2 separate regions of the Homo sapiens genome follow, and region 2 is linked to region 1. The links are contacts of gene promoters, found by promoter capture Hi-C in blood cells and fetal thymus (Javierre and others, 2016). All regions are on one chromosome and are shown on one strand. Each heading gives the region's core, a stretch centred on a gene start or on the middle of the fragment in contact. The rest is flanking DNA. Distances are from core to core; before and after follow the strand shown. Region 1 holds the start of SPIN3 (spindlin family member 3). Region 2 overlaps KLF8 (KLF transcription factor 8).

Evidence for each region. The method cuts DNA at HindIII sites, captures the fragments that hold promoters and counts their contacts. A CHiCAGO score of 5 or more calls a contact.
Region 2: a fragment that was not itself captured here is called in contact with the fragment with the promoter of SPIN3 in region 1 in 1 of 17 cell types (naive CD4 T cells); the score reaches 5.4 in naive CD4 T cells.

Annotation. Positions count from the first base shown.
Region 1 is chrX:56,993,732-56,996,792 of GRCh38, reverse strand. SPIN3 (spindlin family member 3) reads left to right here and starts at 1,252. Exons shown (of 2, transcript NM_001010862.3): 1 at 1,252-1,577; 2 at 1,844-3,061. The coding sequence starts at 1,846. The coding sequence ends at 2,622. RefSeq lists an enhancer at 1,221-1,320. The HindIII fragment of the contact is 2,350 bases long and covers 629-2,978 here.
Region 2 is chrX:56,281,404-56,284,746 of GRCh38, reverse strand. It overlaps KLF8 (KLF transcription factor 8), which reads right to left. Exons shown (of 6, transcript NM_007250.5): 6 at 1-434. The coding sequence ends at 253. Among named protein-coding and RNA genes, the nearest start is that of KLF8, 51 kb to the right of the region's middle. The HindIII fragment of the contact is 7,753 bases long and covers 1-3,343 here.

The DNA of each region.
Region 1 (3,061 bases), core at 3-2,502:
ATCAAAAATACTATCAAGAAAGTGAAGACACCCCACAAAACGGGATAAAATATTTTCATATCATATATCTGATAAGGTTCTCTCATCCAGAATTTAAAAAGAACAATTAACAGCCCTGCTACAAACAATTCATTTAAAAAATGAACAAAGCACTTGAAATAGACATTTCTCCAAAGATACACAAATGTCCAACAAGCACACAAAAAGATGCTCATCCTCATTAGTCATTAGAGAAATGCAAATTAAAACCACAATTAGGTACCACTTCATACCCACTAGGATGGCTGTAACGATAAAACTGATTGAATCACTTCTAAAATGTCTTTCTCCACAGATTTATGATCTCACAAATTCCTGTTTTAATTATAGCAATTGTTCTAAGTTTAGTGTCTAGGTTATTCTGTTCAAGTGAACAGAATAATTCATGCGCAAGCACAATTTATAGGTATTTAACAATTAAACGTCTGAAGATAGGAGGCAACGGCAAAATTATGAAAAATCCTAATGCTTAATTTTATGAAGCTACTACAAAACATGTTCTCAGAAAATATCTAAAAAATTGAGCAAATGTTTATTCTACATGGAAATGAGCAGGACATGAAAGTGCATATTCAAAATTATCCAAGCTTTGTAAGAGCTTAGAAAAAAGGAAAAGGAAATAGTGTTAATATTTCACTGTGAGCCCTGGAAAATGGGAGGCCGGCTTAGTTAATTATTTTCTCTTCATGTCAATTTTCTGAATTTTACAGTGTCAATATTGTGCATGCAATTCTTTTGCAATCAGGGGAAAAGAAAAGAAATCCTCAAGAAGTTAAGTCTGGGAATGACAAGTCAGTAAAAATTACGTAGATTGGGTCAAGATGGCAGCCTGAACACTGAGCAGTAGCGCATTTCTCTTGTCCTACCACAAATCCCCTTCAATGGAGGGTGGGGGGACGCGGGGAGGGAGGGGAAAGGAAAGGGCTAATTCCTGAAAGGTGGAAAGCAGAAGGGGCAGGGGCGCAGAGGGTTGAGGTTAGGTGAGGGGAGGGGCGCGTGCTAAACCAGAAGAGGTAAACCAATGCAGTGAGAGAGAGGTGGTTGTGGGCTCCACAGCTTCTGATTTGGAGGAAGCTGCGAGACCGAGAGCCTAGGAGCACCTTCCACGCCCAGGGCTGTGGTACAGGTTGGTGGGGGAGGGGCGCCACGCGGTGTTTGGCAGGAAGGGGAGGCCTCTCTACTGACCGGAAGCTGCGCTAGAAAAAGAAGGAGGAGACTGCGGCGCAGCAGCGACTAGTGGGAGTCCGATGTGGGAGAGGGGCTGCGGCCACCGCCACCGCCGCCGCCACCAGGAAGGCGGAGGACGCAGGAGCCAAGAGCAAGGGACGCCGCCACGGTCATCTTCGCCTGCCCCGCCGCCCTCTTAGAGACACTCATTGCCTATGGATCATCCTCTCCCAGCTTTTGCAAGCACCGGGCTGCTCGCCCGCTGATTTTCCTCCTCCATAGGCTCACTGCGGAGGCAACGGCGAGGTGTCCGATTTGTGCACTTGAGGCCCGCAATCCGGGACGGTGGGGAATCTGCGCCTCCTGGCCGGGTAGTGTTGGAAGCAGGGCGAGGGGAATGGGGAAACGCTTCGTATTTCACCGAACCGCAGATCTTAGCCAGACTGAGCTGGGGAGGAAGGTTACTGCAGGCACTCAGCCAGGGTGCCTTGATTTCCAGCTTTGCTATCTAGCTTTCGGGAAAAACAGGTGTGGGTTTACTGGGTGCGCTGATTAGGAGAAAAAGCTCTCCGTGTTATGCATTGATTTTGTTAATTTCCTTTCTCGGTCCACCTGGCAACTGTGCTCCTCTTCGCAGGCATGAAGACCCCGTTTGGAAAGGCAGCTGCAGGGCAGCGGTCCAGGACGGGCGCTGGCCACGGCAGTGTGTCTGTTACCATGATAAAGAGGAAGGCTGCACACAAGAAGCATAGGAGCCGACCCACCTCCCAGCCTCGGGGGAACATCGTGGGCTGCAGAATTCAGCACGGATGGAAAGATGGAGATGAACCTCTAACACAGTGGAAAGGAACCGTTCTGGATCAGGTACCTGTAAATCCCTCTCTGTATCTTATCAAATATGATGGATTTGACTGTGTTTATGGATTGGAACTTCACAGAGATGAAAGAGTGTCATCACTTGAAGTCCTTCCTAATAGAGTTGCATCATCTAGAATCAGTGATACACACTTGGCAGAAATAATGGTTGGCAAAGCAGTGGAACATATTTTTGAGACAGAGGAAGGTTCCAAAAATGAATGGAGGGGGATGGTCTTAGCTCAGGCACCTGTCATGAACACATGGTTTTACATTACCTATGAGAAAGATCCTGTATTATATATGTACCAGCTCTTAGATGATTATAAAGATGGTGACCTCCGCATCCTTCAAGATTCCAATGATTCTCCTCTGGCAGAGAGGGAGCCAGGAGAAGTCATAGACAGCCTGGTAGGCAAACAGGTGGAATACGCCAAAGACGATGGCTCCAAGAGAACTGGCATGGTCATTCATCAGGTAGAAGCAAAACCCTCTGTGTACTTCATCAAATTTGATGATGATTTCCATATCTATGTCTACGATTTGGTAAAAACATCTTAGAGGTCATCTTGAAATTTGCCAAATATATGAGACTCTAAATCTGTAGACACAGAAAGTCTTGATTGCTTTCCAGTTTGTAAGAACCATCTTCTCCCTTTTTGCACGTTTTGCTTGGCAAAAAAATTGGAACTTCTGCCCTCTCATACGTTTTTGGAAGAAACCTTTTGCCCATCTGTCCAACCTTTTCACTGGTTCCTCTCCGCAATTTAACTGATTAGTGAGAAGGGTAAAGTCTGACATCCATTGGCTCATACTTTTTTTTATCTTGGGTGGTGTTAATAGATTAAAGGTAGCTGAACACCTCTCACCTCACTCTTTTTGGCACTTGGACTCTACACTCATTGAGGTGTGAAGCTTGCTGAGATATCCCATGTGACTGGCTGGGTAAGTGTCTTTGCAATCTCAAATCTCCCCCAAGTGGCTTCAAAAATCTAACTTG
Region 2 (3,343 bases), core at 97-2,596, 710 kb after region 1:
CATGGGTGCCACACTGGAATTCAACCCATGTGGAGGTTGAAAAAAACGGGTCTGGACAGTGGAGAAGTGAAGGTAGAATATGAAGAGCCCCACGGGAGACCAGCTCTCTTTTCCTCCAGTCTCCTCAACTTGGCTCAGTGGGCTGCTTCAACCCCATATGCAAGCTGAAGTCAAAGAGGAAAAAATTGTCCCAACCTCAGCACACGACCAGGAAAGATACCAGCGCAGCTTCTCTAGTGTGACCTGTGCGGCTCACATGGTGTCATGGCGACGGCGATGCAGGGACAGGTGGTCAGAACGAGAAAAGCTGCGGTTGCAGTCTGTGCACCGAAAAGGCTTGATGCCTGTGTGCTTGCGGAAATGGCGAGTGAGCTCATCTGAGCGAGCAAATTTCCAGGAGCAGCCATCCCAGGTGCATTTATAAGGCTTCTCTCCTAAAAAGGGAATGTGACAAAAAAAAGAGAATCAGAGAGAGGATGATCGGATACTAGAAAGATAATAGAATACATAACTCGTATCAAGGCTTTAGTGAAAAGGCTAGGCAATAACCTTGAAGGCATATGCCTGTAAATCTTTTAAGTTAATTAATTGATTGAGAAGCACTGTATAAATGTACAACATGATGTTTTGAGATGTATATACATTGTGGAATGGCTAAGTCGAGTTAATTAACATACATATTACCTATATACTTATCTTTTTTTGTGGTAAGAACACTTGAAATCTACTCTCTCATTGATTTTCAATAATACAATACATTGTTACCTACAGGAGTTCTAAAGAAAGTCCAAGATGTTAGAGTGGGAAGCACATAGCCTCTTGTTCAAATAGGCCTTTGTGTGATCCGGCTCTACTACAAACTAGCTGTGTGATCTTATATAATCACTTCTCCCTGGCTTGGTCTCTGTTTTCTCATCTCTAAAGGATAAAAATATATCACAAAGTTGTTCAAAACATTTTATTTTTAAAAGATAGCTAGCAACCAATACAACTGGGATCTAAACTCAGGTCTTTGGCACTTTATAATATCCGTTCCTCTAATATCTCCTACCAAACAGTCTAAAATAGAGCCATATGGTCCGGTGCGGTGGCTCACGCCTGTAATCCCAGCACTTTGAGAGGCAGAGGCGGACGGATCATGAGATCAGTATATTGAGAACATCCTGGCTAACACGGTGAAACCCCGTCTCTACTAAAAATGAAAAAAATAAGCTGGGCGTCGTGGAGGGCGCCTGTAGTTCCAGCTACCCAGGAGGCTGAGGCAGGAGAATGGCGTGAACCCGGGAAGCGGAGCTTGCAGTGAGCCGAGATTGCGCCACTGCACTCCAGCCTAGGAGAGAGCGAGACCTGTCTCAAAAAAATAAATAAAATAAAATAAAATAGAGCCATATATACACAGGATGAATGTGTGATTCATTGGAAAGGGCCCTCAGCTAAGGCTACAGGTCTTTTGTGTAAGGTTAGAAACTCAAGGGCATGTAATGGCATGGGGGGCAGTGTCAGGTCAAACTTTTTGAAATAGCTCCATGCCCAGAATCTTTGGGTTGTATTTGAATTATATATAGGATATGTATGCTCAAGATAGAAAGCTAAATGGAAAAAAAGTAGTATAAAAAAATTAACGCAGTATGACCCCATTATGGTATATAGATCACACACCATACATTTGTATACTCATAATAAAGCCAATATCAATACACTTAAATGTACATTATGAGAGAAACTGTTAACAGTGAATGACTTTGTGGAAAGTGAGGACCAGGGATGGTGGGAAGAGAACTTTTCATTTTTACTTTATACCCTTTTGTACTGTTTTAAATGCTTTAAAATCATAATGTTGTATCATATAATAAAAATTTTGAAAAAGGAAATAAGCTATATGAGCAACAATAAATATTAACTGTGGATAAGTCTGGGTTGTAGGATTAGGGTAATGTTTGCTTTCTTCTTAATACATTTTTCTGTTTCCCATCTTCTACAATGAGCATGTATTATTTTACAATCAGAAACAAACAATAATGCAGACACAAAAATGCATTGGTATTCTAACAGTCTCTTTCTCTCGGTCTTTTCCCCTTTACTCCCTGTAAATTACCTAGGGCATTTAATTTTATGCTGTTCTAAATTCTGGTGGCAATCTGGCTTGCATAAACTGTTTTCCAACTTACTACACACCACCTACCAACCCTCCCAAGTGTTTGCTAATTAACTGTATAGTGTTCACATAATGAGCAACAGAATGAAATCCAGTCTGAATCACAGCTTTGGACTATATCAAGGCAAACATTTCAAAGATTAAAGACATCAATTACTGATCATTTCAATATTCAGAAATAGCTGCATTAGCTGCTAAGAAGAATGAGATAAAGCTGGATGTAATGAGACAAAAAAGATGGCAAATGAAATGTTATCAAATTAAAAAAGATACTGAACAACCACACACACACATGCTCACGGAGAGTAGGATCTCATTTATGTTTTCTAAATCTTGTGCCTGTCCTTCTCTGTCTCTCTCTCTCCAAGGAGGAAAGATCTGGAAGGCTATACAACAAATTGTTAACAGAGGGAAGAAGAATAGGATTTCAGGGGATGTTTAGAGTGTGTAAATTAAATTTTCACTTTTTGTTCTATGTGATTTTATAGCATCTCCACATCTCCCAATGGCTGCATTGCTATCTATACATTTTGTTGTGATCTCTCAAGAATGTCTTCTGAGAATTCCTATATACACCTCAACCAATTGAGGAAAATTTGACTTGTAAGGCAGTGACACCCTGTGGTGATCAGAGCTCATTTCTAGAACACACAAATTATTGTAAAGGAATTCAGCAGTGAGGCCCATTTTCCTATTTCAAAAGCATTTACCCTTGTATTATCATTGAACAAGCTCCTGTTTGTGCCAATGAACATCATACAACACAACTTGTAATCTCCATCAACTTATCATTTGAATTAAAGAACAAAGTATATATGCAGAGAAAGAATTCATAATATAAAGCACATATATTAACTATGTGACAAAGATAGTAAGTGTGACATGGCAGGTGCGGTGGCTCATGCCTGTAATCCCAGCACTTTGGGAGGCTGAGGCACATGGATCACTTGAGGTCAGGAGTTCGAGACCAGCCTGGCCAACATAGTGAAACCCCGTCTCTACTAAAAACACAAAAATTAGCCGGGTGTGATGGTGCACACCTGTAGTCCCGCTACTTGGGAGGCTGAGGCATGAGAATTGCTTGAACCCGGGAGGCAGAGGTTGCAGTGAGCTGAGATCACACCACTGCACTCCAGCCTGGGCGACAGAGCAAGACTCTGTTTCAAAAAAATAAGTAAGTGTGATATA